Linked DNA regions of Homo sapiens: regions 2 and 3 are each linked to region 1. Evidence: promoter capture Hi-C in 16 types of primary human blood cells and fetal thymus (Javierre and others, 2016). All regions are on one chromosome and are shown on one strand. Each heading gives the region's core, a stretch centred on a gene start or on the middle of the fragment in contact. The rest is flanking DNA. Distances are from core to core; before and after follow the strand shown. Region 1 holds the start of CALHM6 (calcium homeostasis modulator family member 6). Region 2 overlaps FRK (fyn related Src family tyrosine kinase). Region 3 overlaps NT5DC1 (5'-nucleotidase domain containing 1).

What was found. The method cuts DNA at HindIII sites, captures the fragments that hold promoters and counts their contacts. A CHiCAGO score of 5 or more calls a contact.
Region 2: a contact is called between a fragment that was not itself captured here and the fragment with the promoter of CALHM6 in region 1, in 1 of 17 cell types (total B cells). The highest score is 5.2, in total B cells.
Region 3: a contact is called between a fragment that was not itself captured here and the fragment with the promoter of CALHM6 in region 1, in 1 of 17 cell types (monocytes). The highest score is 5.6, in monocytes.

Annotation. Positions count from the first base shown.
Region 1 is chr6:116,458,208-116,462,624 of GRCh38, forward strand. CALHM6 (calcium homeostasis modulator family member 6) reads left to right here and starts at 3,168. Exons shown (of 3, transcript NM_001010919.3): 1 at 3,168-3,222; 2 at 3,665-4,247. The coding sequence starts at 3,723. CALHM6-AS1 (CALHM6 antisense RNA 1) reads right to left here. Exons shown (of 2, transcript NR_174951.1): 2 at 2,271-2,987. It also overlaps the pseudogene KRT18P22. RefSeq lists enhancers at 3,574-3,683, 3,694-3,773 and a silencer at 4,154-4,233. The HindIII fragment of the contact is 9,761 bases long and covers 1-4,417 here.
Region 2 is chr6:116,015,496-116,019,912 of GRCh38, forward strand. All of the region lies in intron 1 of FRK (fyn related Src family tyrosine kinase), which reads right to left. Among named protein-coding and RNA genes, the nearest start is that of FRK, 43 kb to the right of the region's middle. The HindIII fragment of the contact is 867 bases long and covers 1,612-2,478 here.
Region 3 is chr6:116,101,872-116,106,151 of GRCh38, forward strand. All of the region lies in intron 1 of NT5DC1 (5'-nucleotidase domain containing 1), which reads left to right. Among named protein-coding and RNA genes, the nearest start is that of NT5DC1, 3.2 kb to the left of the region's middle. RefSeq lists an enhancer at 1,155-1,224. The HindIII fragment of the contact is 3,268 bases long and covers 802-4,069 here.

The sequences.
Region 1 (4,417 bases), core at 1,918-4,417:
ATGGTCATGAAGTAATGGCTCCAGTCTCTGGCCTGGGGTCCCTTCTTCCCCAGGTGCTCCCGGATTTTGCTCTCCAGCTTCCAGTTCTCGGTCTCCAGGCTCCTCACTCTGTCCAGGTAGGAGGCCAGACAGTCGTTCAGGCTTTGCATGGTCTCCTTCTCATTCTGGATGCCTGCTATCCCTGCCAGACCCCTGGCCATCCCTGCAGCCAGGCCCCCGGATCCCATGCCGCCCCAGAAGCTGGTGGAGCGGGACACAGAGATCCGGGAACCAGAGTCCTGGGTGCCTGCATAGACACTGGCTGCACTGCTGACCAGCTGGGCGATGAAGCTGGGTGTCTGGACAGAGCCCAGGGAATGGTAGTTGGTGGAGAAGGTGGAGCAAGTGGTGAAGCTCATACTGTCCAGGGAGGAGAGCAAGAGGACAGGACTCAGGCTTTACCGATGACATTCTACTACTCATTTCTTAACAGCTGAAGCAAATCACAGGCTTTCAAAAGTGTAAAGACATTTAAAATATTATTTAGTCTACCTCTCCACACCATTAGGGTGTTAGTCAATTTCCACTAAGGGCTGAACTTCTGAGCAATATCCTCTCAGAACAGACCTGGGTATGGAGGGCTGGGAATCTTCAATAGACCCAGAGCTAGAACCAGTCAATCCAGTGGTGGTGGGAGTGGATGGCAGGGTACTAGACTCAAGACCAAGTGCTGGGGAAACATTCAGGCTGGCAGGCAAAACCTGGACTCTCAATTATAGAAACCTGTACTAAGTTCTGAATGATCATTGCATCTGGGAGAGTTGGGTTTGGGAGAGCACAGAAGTAGCAAACCCAGGAGGTGGTGTTTAGAGACACAAGCTGACAAGACAATATGTCAGGATGCAGCTCAGTCTGTGAAAGTTTCAGAGGCAGAATTGCAGACTACATATTCTGGTCTGTGAAGCACCTAAACCTGACCTTCCACTTGCAGCTTTGGCCTCATGATGTGCCAACTTGCCTGTCATTCTCAATGCTCCCATCACTCTAGCCTTCTTTCTAACCAAGCTCCTTTGTACTCCAGACTCATTCAGATTAAATGTCAGTTTCTCACAGAGGCTCTTTCAGGACACTCTCTAACTCCAATTTATCCTGTGCGTAATCTTTAGGACCCCTCCTCTCCATTTCCTATATCATCTCTACTGTAAGTTCAAAGACGGCAGGATACCTGTGTCTTCTTCCTTGTTGTATCCAGCAATACCAGGCACTTTTGATAGGTACTTGACATATTCTGAGTACTTATTAAACATTTAAATGAATGACTGAATGAACAAATGAACTAATTAATAACTGGTTAACAAATGAATTAATCTAGTTGGGGAAGGGGGCTGATAGATAAAAGTTTCTGTAAGTAAACATATTTCAAACAAATCCTTGACTAAATAACAGAAGCCAGGGAAGAGAAGGTGATGGACTTCATTAGAGTCTTAAAAAATGAAGGGAATGAAAACAGACCATAGGAATGAGGTGAAGGAGGAGATGGTGCTGATTAGATTGAGCCTCAGTGGATGATAAACTATTATAGCACAGTGGTAAAACCCTGGTATGGCTATCAGCAGGTAACCAGGAAAATGCCAGCCATCCCTCTTGGTTTGAGAGATGTGGGAGAATAAATTAATCTCACTCAAGAAGACAGAAGGATGCATTTTTATTAGGTTTCGGTTAGGGGAGATTTGGATAAAGCCATCTGCACAAAGGTTGTGGATATAGTGATGTTTCTGCATGATGGAATATGGGAAAGGGTGGACGAGAGAGGACACATCTTAGAGTATTATGGTAGAGGTGAAGAAGAGTCCAGCAGTAAGAGGAGAGTTACTCAAGGCACAGGGGAAGAAATTTATCTTGGGAGATGACAAATTACAAAGATAACAGTCAGAGCAGAAGTGATTCGCTTCAAACACGCAACTTTGCTGCAAGTTGACAGGAAGCCTAGCAGTATCTGGTCTAATCTCAGAGAAGAGGGCCCCAACTTTCCTGCATGACCATGAAGACCCTCATCTGGGGCTGGCCCCTAAACACATAGAAAAAAGATGTCTATTTACCACATCACTATGGAATGACAGCTTTTGGCACTACGCTAGGCACCCTGCTGGTGGTGTTGGAGAGGGAGTAGTTAAGAAGGCAAGTTGGACTAAGAAAAGAATAATACATTTCTTGTCCATTCTCTAAAAATTCACTTGGTTCCATGGGCTACCTATTCTTTCCAGATAAAATAAGGCAAGCCTGGTGGATGGGCACCAATAAGAACCATTTCATTGTGAACTGCCCACCCAAGCTCCATATCCAGATACTCTCCTTGTGGTGAAGCAGACAGCTAAGGTGTACACCAATTCTCTTAAGGTAGCAGAGTCATTGAGTCACTTAATACTATCCACTGAATTGATCCTCGTTTAAAATTCAAAATTCAGTATTCATCAAGATTCTTAGGTTATGTACAATGTAATTATTTGTTGTCTATTCCCCAAATTGCATTTTAAGGGGAAAACTCTCACACTGATCATTCATTTAACAGACATATCCTATATGTAAAGGCACTTTACATATGCTACTCAATCTACTCATGTCAGTAATCTTGAAAAGTGGGCACTATTATCCTTCTTTTACAAATAAGGATGCTGTGTCTCAGAGGGGCATACTTGTTAAACACACCACAGACAAGATGCACTTGACTTCAAAGCCCATGTTCTTTCAAGCACACCTCAGCTCAGTCTGGAGTCACACAGAGTAAGGCTCAATATCACAAAAGTGGTTACAGTGTTTGTGTCAGAACAACGCTGCTTGAGAAAACTGAAGGTGGAGGAAACAACATTAGATAGATGTAGCTGCAGTTTGAAATTTTGGGTTCAACTAGCATTCTTTGAATAATCATGTATCCCCTTCTGTGCAGATCAGCTTGGTGGTCAGAGTCAGAATTTTACTCTCCTCCAGGCATTGACAGTGTTATGACATATCTGAAAGAAAAGAACATTGTATTGACGAGTAAATCAATACAGTATATTTGGTCTAATGTCCTGAAGGAGATCAGGCAGAGGAGAGAAGAGTCAGTGTGAACTAGGCTGGTGGCTCTGTCCGGTAGGGAGATGGAAAGGGTGCCGCCCATCATAGAAGTACCAGAACTTGAGCTGGACTTTGCTGATTTAGCTTATGGAAGAGGAACCAGAAATTTGTCCTTGAATAATGTTTCCCGTAAGTAATCAGTTTTTTGATAATTATTTGGTTTTACTGTGATCTGGCTTAGTAACTAGGGTGGCTGCAATAGAGGAAAATCTGGTATTTCCCAGTTTTTCCAACTGGCGGCCGTGGGTCAAGAAGGTTAGTTTCCTGGTTCGTTGTCAGATTGGTGGTAATAAAGGAACAAGGTCAACCTTCTGTCAGAGTTCCTGAATTGGGGGAGGAAGATAACTGGTGCCTCTGCCTTTGGAATGGGGTGGGTGCCAGAGAAGTCAAGGTCCTGGGGGTGTTTGCTTGCCTGGTTCTGTTAACCAGAGGTGGTGTGGCTGAAATGAGAAAGTGAAACTTTAGGAAGGTCTGAGAAGCCCTCTTCCCTTTAAAAAAAAAAAAAAAAAGGCTGCTTCTCGCAGAGTGGAAAGCCCCGGTCCCCATCCCACCAAAACCATTTGACAAGCAGGACAACGAAGAGGCAGAAGGATCTGGGCCTGTGCGCGACGCCCCGGGGGACGAGGCTCATGGAGAAGTTTCGGGCGGTGCTGGACCTGCACGTCAAGCACCACAGCGCCTTGGGCTACGGCCTGGTGACCCTGCTGACGGCGGGCGGGGAGCGCATCTTCTCCGCCGTGGCATTCCAGTGCCCGTGCAGCGCCGCCTGGAACCTGCCCTACGGCCTGGTCTTCTTGCTGGTGCCGGCGCTCGCGCTCTTCCTCCTGGGCTACGTGCTGAGCGCACGCACGTGGCGCCTGCTCACCGGATGCTGCTCCAGCGCCCGCGCGAGTTGCGGATCGGCGCTGCGCGGCTCCCTGGTGTGCACGCAAATCAGCGCGGCCGCCGCGCTCGCGCCCCTCACCTGGGTGGCCGTGGCGCTGCTCGGGGGCGCCTTTTACGAGTGCGCGGCCACCGGGAGCGCGGCCTTCGCGCAGCGCCTGTGCCTCGGCCGCAACCGCAGCTGCGCCGCGGAGCTGCCGCTGGTGCCGTGCAACCAGGCCAAGGCGTCGGACGTGCAGGACCTCCTGAAGGATCTGAAGGCTCAGTCGCAGGTCTGCCGCTGGCGCTGGGGGCGTTTGGGAGGAGCCGAGAGGCCGAGCTTTCTCAGGGCCGCTGGGGTGAGGGAAAAATCGGTGACTTTTCTCCAGATATACAGTACCCTAAGAAAATCTAGAATGGCTCCTTGCATCTAATTTGCCGTCAAGAGAATATCTGAATAAAA
Region 2 (4,417 bases), core at 795-3,294, 440 kb before region 1:
TATAAAGAAAAACTGAAAATGTGGAAGCAACTTTGGAACTAGGTAACAGGCAGATGTTGGACAGTTTGGAGGGCTCAGAAGAAGACAGGAATATGTAGGAAAGTTTGGAACTTCCTAGACACTTGTTGAACAGTTTTGATCAAAATGCTGATAGTAATATGGACAATGAATTCCAGGCTCAGTTGGTCTCAGATAGAAATGAGGAAGTTATTGGGAACTGGAGTAAAGGTCACTCATGCTATGCTTTGGCAAAGAGACTGGTGGCATTTTGTCCCTGCCCTAGTGATCTGTGGAATTGTGAACTTGACAGAGATGATTTAGGGTATCTAGCAGAAGAGATTTCTAAGCAGTGAAGCATCCAAGATGTGACCTGGCTGATTCTGAAAGCAGTCAGTCATATGCATTCACCAAGAGATTATCTGAAACTGGAACTTTTATTTATCAGGGAAGCAGAGCATAAAAGTTTGGAAAATTTGCAGCCTGATCATGTGGTAGAAAAGAAAAGCCCATTTTCTGGGGAGCAATTCAACCCAGTTGCAGAAATTTGCTTAAGTGACCAGGGGCCAAATGTTAATAGCCAAGACAATGAAGAAAATGTCTCCAAGGCATGCCAGAGATCTTCATGGCAGCCCCTCCCATCACAGGTCCAGAGGCCTAAAAGAGAAAAATGGTCTCATGGGCTGGGTACAGGGTCCTGCTGCTCTGTGCACCTTCTGGACTTGGTGCCCTATGTCTCAGCTGCTCCAGCTCCAGCTGTGGCTAAAGGAGGCCAAAGTACAGCAGAGCACAATCTCTATAGTAGGTTGACTATAGTTAACATTAATCTACTGTTCCTTATTTGAATGTTCCTAGCATGAAGAAAAGAGAAATAGTTAAGGTAATGGATATTCCAATTCAGATTATATTAATGTATCAAATTATCACATGTACCCAGAGAATATGTACATCTTTTATGTACCAATAAAAAATAATTTTAAAAACTATACTGTCTAATCTTAATCCATACATGACACAGAGACACACACACATATATGTGAATGAGTGGATGGATGTGTGTGTGTGTTTGTGTGTGTGTGTGTAGCTGCAGATACCAACATGGATGTACAGATATGTACTAGTTTTACTGCTTTGGGGGGATTAAAATGAAGCAGGTGCCCCCAGGGAGTCAAGGTGTGAGACCTGGTCTGCTACAGGTCAGAACAAGCACACACGTTCTCTTTCTTTCTTCCTTCATTCTTTCTTTCTTTCTTTCTTTTTAATAATTTAGCCCTGTATACCCAGATACTCACTAAGCATTACTATCATGAATAATTACCAATAATAACACCAATGTTAATAACTAAAGATAGTTTAAAACCCATGTAAATGCCACCCACTGGACTTTGAAATAGTAGAAACTGAACACATCCACAGAGCAGCTTGTTCTCAAAAAGAAAGCCTGAAACAGTGCCAGAAAACACATCTTTTGTTTTCAGTGTCAACAAACTATTTGTCAGGAAACAAAAGGAAGGCTCTGCCTGCACTGATGGACTTTTCTGAAATCTGAAAATTAGTTTACTGCTTGCTCCTGCTTAGAATTACAGAAAGAAGCAGTTGCACAAATACATTACAAGCTTACTCCTCAGAACTGTTGTGGAAAAAGGCAGACTGAGAGAAGAAAGAGCCCCCACCTCCCTACCTCCCAACACACACCCGTGTTACTGTTAAATCAAGCAGAAAGCTGTCTCCTTACACGTTTTAAGTTCAGCCTAAAGGTTTCTCTGTACACAGTGAACTGCAACCTAAATGGATGTGCAAACAGACTGTAACCTACTCTTGTGCCAATCACCAAGTTTTGAGCAACCAAAGGTGGCCAACTGTTCAAACCCTGTTCAAAATAAGGCAAACACCGAGCTGTAACCAATCCAGCTGTTTCTGTACCTCTTTTCAATTTTTCTACATCGCTTTTCTTTTTCTCTCCATAAGTCCCTTTCCACCAGCTGGACTCTGTCTGAGCACACTCTGGCTCAGGAGACTGCCTGATTTGCCAACAGTTCTTTGCCCAGTTAAACTCTGCTAAGTTTAATTTGTCGAGGTTTTTCTTTTATCACTACCTAAGGATTAACCTTCTCTAGGGCCTCAGTTCTCAAACTCCAGTTTCTGAAGACTGTCCCAGGAAGTGTGTACAAGGCAAATAGTCTAAGAAGGTCGGAGGTAGAGCTCAGGATGCTGTAGGTTCCCAAGTGCCACAGGCAATTCAGAGGCAGGTAACCAAGGTACTACAATTTGAAAAACACAGCTGTTTCTAGAAGAGGGGGACTTTCTCTTAACATCTTCTCCTAAATCCTGAGTCATCCTGCCATAGCCCACCTTGCACCTTTTTCTCTCCAGTCCACTCTGCCTCACACTGCCTCACACTGGACCCCACTTCTTTATTTTCAACCCTTACAAAACATTACAAATTCAATCCAAATGCTGTATAAAATTTGTGAAGAGCAAAGCTTTAAGTACAATACAGAGCAGAAAACAAGTTCAAACAGATACCAGAAATTTCTGTTCATTGAAATTTAATGTCCTTTCTGCTGAAGAGGGAATTTCCCAAAACTTTTTCCCTTATGTCTAGGGCCCCCTAATAGGTTGCTGAGGAACCACTCCTCTTCCTCCTTTCTCTGTGCCAGGGATTTTACAACAAAATTCTCCATGTTTCTGTATGCAAAGCAGTTTGATTTCCTACCCAACCCTTACTCCAAACTAGATTCTGGGTCTCCCTCTGTATACCCCAGCACTTCTTAAATTGTTCTGCTCAATTAAGGCCCATCTATTCCATGTCTTTATTCTCAGCAGCACAAACAGCCAGAGCTTTGAAAACAGAATTTTCTTTAGCACATCAAATCCTTAGGCAAAGCTCTTCTCACACCATTATCCATAGCAGATGGTAGCAACAGAATTATGCATCCTCTCGCTGTCCAGAACAAGCCTATACCCTGGGGTAAGGGTGAAAGGCAGAGTCCTTCCAGTTATATTTGTGTTTTAAATAATTCAGTTTATTAAAATTATAAGTGTCTTGAAGTAGACTAAAATGTTTGCTCTCTTACAAAGTGTTTTCATAAGAGGATATACTCTAATAATACACAATGGAAATATTATTTGTAAATAGCATGTAAACTATTTATATACAAATATGTGTTTTGAGAAACTGAAATATTCCCTGCCTCAATGACTGCCTTACTAGTAAGCATATTGCAATTAAATAAAATTTTATTCCAGAATTTTAGTGATACAAAGACATTTCCACCATGCTCTTTGCCTGGGATAATTTTTTTTTAATCATTGAAATACTCAGAGCATAATAAAATCTGACCTGTTCACTGTGACCCAGGAAAGGATTTTAAAATCTTATAGATTTGAAGAGACCTGCTGTTGGAAAGAGGGCACAGTAAAGGAACATCCTAAAGCCTTAGAATTAGAGCTTCAAGTAAGCTTGAGGAGCATATTTCTCTGAAGGTGAATGATAATAGATTCATTGCACAAGCCAGCTCCCCTCTGACTTATCTCCAGTGCATTCTTTGGATGGCAAGGCAAGGGGCTTGTGGTAGGAAAGCCTTCCTCTACAGATCAAATGAGTCTGAGCACCTTGTTCCTTTCCTTCATAGCTCTTTCCTTAGCTTACTTTGTTTTTGGTATTATTTGATTAATTCCTACTTCCCATTACACATGTAAGCTCAAGAGAGTGGAAACCTTATCTTTTACTTATCACTGAAATTCCAAGAGCCTAGCACAACACATGGTATTAAATAAACTTGCATTCATACTGTTGAATGAATAAACAGATGATTATTTGAGGATGTGAGTCTTCCACTTGAAAGTTAAAAAGCTGACCAAATAATTTCAAAACGTAGGACAAGAATATAGAGAGAATATACTGAAGATTTGGTACAGAGAGCAAAAGAACAAGTCCACTTTTACCAGTAATGAATAACCTCATAGCCAATCAGATGATCACAATCCTATGACGACGATGACAATTATAACAATCATGTAAAGAATAACATTTGGATTCCACTTTATAATTGAGTGCCATCACCTAGAATATGGCACTTATTCTCAAGGCAACTCTTGGGGATAGTCAGAGCAAGTGCTTCAAAATCCCCACTTTGTGGAAAAGGGAACTAGAAATGAGAGAAATTGCATGATTTGTCATGCAGAAATAATAAGCAGAGCCAGTGTGTTGGCAGATGTGCAAAGCAGTTACATGTGACTTCACTAAAATTGTGCAGAATAGAAAGTGGGGAGTATGGACTTGTCCTCAAATAATAATACCACTCTACAGAGTGGGTCAGAAATAGCCAATAGTTATGACTTATTAAGACCCAAACTTCAGGTTCTAAAAATGTTCCTGTAGAATAACAGAATATCTGTTTATGAAGTTAAACATTAA
Region 3 (4,280 bases), core at 1,186-3,685, 360 kb before region 1:
TGGTTATGAGTACAGTGGTGAAAGCGAGGACTCCTCAGCCAGACTGCCTAGCTTAGGACACCAGCTCCACTGTTACTAGCTCTGTGACTTCGAGGAAGTTACTTAACCTGTGCTGCTTCTCAGTTTCCCCATCTGTAAAATGGAGCTAATAATTGGATTTACCTCACAAGATTGTTGCAAGGATTAAATGAGTAAGAGATGTATAATGCTTAGAATAGTACCTTGGCAAAGACAAGTGTTTGCTTTTATGGTTACCACCCAAACTATTTGGAAACCTCACAGTTTATGGGTAGAACTCTAGATCACTGGTGCAGACATCAGCCAGGGTTGTGCCCCATTATGGGCACCCGCCAGTTCCTGCACCCACCAGTTCAGGTACACGTTAAAGGTCAAAAAAGAGTGGCTGCCCGAATTTCTCGTGTGTTTTCTATGCCCAGATGCTAAATTTTTTTTTAAATGTCCTTTTTCTGCTGTTACACTTTCCTGCTTTCTTACCTTACAGGTCTGGTTTCCTTAGTCACATTGAGAATTAAGAAGGCTTTTTTACTGCTTGATTCTTTGGCCACTGCTTCCCCTAGGTCTTTGATACATGTTTTCCTTCCCTCTGTGTCTTTCGAATCCTTCCTGGTTCACAGTTTTGTGTGTCTCCTCTTTAGTTACCTTCATTTGGAGGTAATATTGTTAAACCACTGTCATGTTAGAGCTAGTGTTGTCCATAGGTGATCATAAAATTTCAGAATATAAGATTCTCAAAGACAAGAGGTTTTTTTACTGCAAACCTGGAGAATAAGTGATGTTTAAAGCTTGAAAACAGTAACCTATTGAGTTTTGGATCATGTTTGGTGTGGAAATCTTTTTTATTTTAAGTCCCACAGTGTGCTGAGCACCATGCTAGAGCTGAGGATACAGAGATCAACACGCAGGCCTCCAGGCAGCCTTACACAGTAGGCAAAAATGCTGAAGAGTTAGTCTTGGTCCCTTGTGGTGGGTAGTATGACCTGGGTCTTGCTTCACGCTGCCAACAGTGCCTGGAGGGCCTCTTTGCTCTGCACAGAAGCTCTTCATCCCATCAGGCCTCATCTTAAACATCGTTCCCCTTAGGAAGTCTTTTTGGCCCTTAAAGTTTGCCCTTCCATTCTAAGCCCACCTTCAGTTTTCCACAAAACCCTTCATTCCTCATAGCACATGCTGCATGATATTAACACTTCCTGTTTACTTGTTGGACTTCCCCTAGAGCCCAGCGTGATGACTCCATCAGTATCTGTGACAGTTTCTTGTGTGTTCTGTGTGCCGAGCTTAGTGCTGGGCACATACTGGACTCAATAAATAGACTGAATAGATAATAGGTATTTTAATAACAGAATATGATACAGCCATGATTCTAATAAGCATGCTGCTTATATGAATGGATTTAATCCTTACAACGTCCCTGTGAGGTAGATATTATCACCACTGTTTAATCACTTAACAGTGATTTAGTCACTGTTAAGAGAGCATCAAGCAACGGGGCACAGAAGGAAAGTGTATCCAGGGCAACTAAGCGAGGTAGTCCGGCTGTGGATTTCTGCTTCTTCCCACCTTGCTGTCTGTATGGTGCCCGAAAACACAGAGGAAAGGCCGGGAGCTGGCAGGTGAGGAGGTGGAGAGGAGTGCTTCACCCAGAGGAGTTAGAGTAAAGGTCAGAACCTCGAGGTGAGCAACAGCACCGGGAACTGCTGGGTGCAAGCAAAAGGTGGCAAGTTGCAGGAGAAGATGGTGGAGAAGTCAGTGGGGGCTGCATCATGGAGAGCTGTGAGTGCGTCTCCTTTCAGTTTTGTAGGCATTTAACAACTGCACAGAGTTGTGCAAACACAGAACTGAGTGTGTCCCCCTCACATGAGGCCTCAGGAAAGGCATTCTAGAAGAGAGGATGACACATGGTTTCTCCTCTCTAAGGTTGCAGACTCAGAAGTCTGATACCAGTCAGTTAACGTAGATGTGTGAGTGGGAGAGTGGGGTCCCAAATATTGCATGCTTATACTAAAAAAAAATTATTTGTTTTTTATTTGAAAGTCACATTTACCTAGGCATTTTTAAATTTTATCTGGCAACCTTAAGTGGGAACCAAACATAATTTGTAGGCTGCATATGGACCACAGGGTACCAATTGGCAACTGCAGTAGAACGTGTATTATTATTACTCCTGAGAGACTGTGAGGTGGTGATAGCTAAGGCTGGGGGAGGAATGTCATGGAGAGCCCTGTGCCATGAAGGCTTCTAGAGAGACTCAGCGTACTCTAAGGACAAACTGCAAGAAGCCTTCTGCCTAGACCAGGGGTTTCAGAGTACAGATGCCCCTGCTTTTCTTCACACTGCTTTTCTCTGCTTCTTTTCCTTGTCCATTGGCCCCCTTCTCTCCTGTTACAGAAAAATCTCCTCCACAAGGTAAGGAACACAGCTGTTGCTGTCCCTGTTGGCGTCTCTGATGGAAAGGGCTCCTTTCTTCCAGGAGAATTCAAGTGTTTTAGAATTACATGCCCATATCTTAGACTAATCACTTGAATAACTGGAGAAACTCAAAAGTGCCTCAATGAGAGGCAAATCTAAGGTGTACAATAGCTGGCTCTTAGGGGCTTGTGAAAGCCAATTGTTAACTATTCAGGAATTGTGCAAGCAGGTAAACTGCTGTTGGTGACTTGAAACAGGCCATGGTGGGAATATTTACACCGTGGAGATGGGCAAGCGCTACCTGTCAGGGCAGTGTTTTTGTTTTCTGTTTTTTTGTTTTGTTTTGTTTTGTTTTTAGCAGCATACAACATAATAATAGCAAATACTTAAATTGGATTTGCTGGTGTGCCAGGCTCTGCTCTAAGCATTTTACATCTGTTAGCCCTGCAGCACTGGTTTCTTATAAGCAGGATCGTGATGTGGACTTTTTATTGTCCATAGTACTTTGTACCACAGGGTGACTCAGTGTATTTTTTGTTGCTTTTTTCCTTTTAATGATTGAATAAAAATCTGTAAAACATGCAGGTCAGTGATTTTCAGTGTTCTCTGTGCTTCAGAGAGGGCCCTCTCTACCCTGTATGCTTGGAAGCTCTGGGTAGTTTTAAGAAGTGTCACCTATGGTTCTGAATCACCACCAGGGTTAAGAACTGTTGATATATAGTGTTAACATAATGTGGTTCAATTAACAGTTGACCTGGATAAGGTCACATTGCACTGGATGGAAGTACATGTGTAGTGATTTTAATTAGCTTTATGACAGGGAGCAACTCGATTTGACATTTCACAAGGAGCCTTTGCTTTCTCCATGCTCATATCCTGACACTCAGACCCCGACACCCCTACTCCAGCTGTGTGCAGGCCCCTCAGTTTCTGAACCTGAGTTGCCCCCCATTCCCTCTGCATTCACCCAGCGAACTGCTGCATCTAAGTATCAGTGTAAACCTCACTACCCAGGAGAGATTTCCCCTGCTCCTCTGCCTCCCTCTTCTCCCTAAAAGTATGACATGTTATCGAAACCTGTTGTGGGTTAATATCTGTAGAAGAAGGGTCAGATTGTTCAGTGTGTCCTTTTGGACACTGTGCAGGTTGACTCAGACAACTGTTCTGCTCAGGCTCAAGTTTACCCAACACTGGCCAAAGAACACTTCGAGGTAGAATAAGGTTGGACCATCTACCTTTTGTGCACTTTTTGTTTGGTATGTACAGTTCTTTTAAAGTTAGCCAGCACTTAAAAACCAGATATTTTACTCAAAAACCTAGCATTTTTTGTTGTTGAGAAATAAGATCTGTCAGCAATCAACAGAGTATTTATTATTGTAATTATTGTACTTGCTTCCAGAGGCTTTCTTTGTCCTTTGTCTTTAGATTTTTTTTTTTTAATGGTTTTTGTGTATGTGTGTGTGGAGAAACAAGAGTGATTACCTGTATCTGATAGAGGCATCATGACTTGTTTAGATCACCTTCCTGGTCCCCATATGTATTTCCCTGACATGGGGCCTTTCTGGCCAGAATGGACCAAGGATGGATGGATAGAGTGGTCATCATCTTTATCATCTTAGTGATGTATTAAATAAGTTTAAAAAGCTTTGTCAAGTCTTAAATTATGATCTCCAACCCATTAGAATTCAGGAGTAGGGTTAATAATTGTCTTTGGTTGTATAATTGTATGCTGACGGTATAATTTTGAATGGGACAGCTACCTGGGGCATGCAGGGGATGATAAATTGCTTGTGAAGGAGAATTATACTGCAGAACTTCACAATTACAGATATTTCCTTCCTCCTACCTGCCCC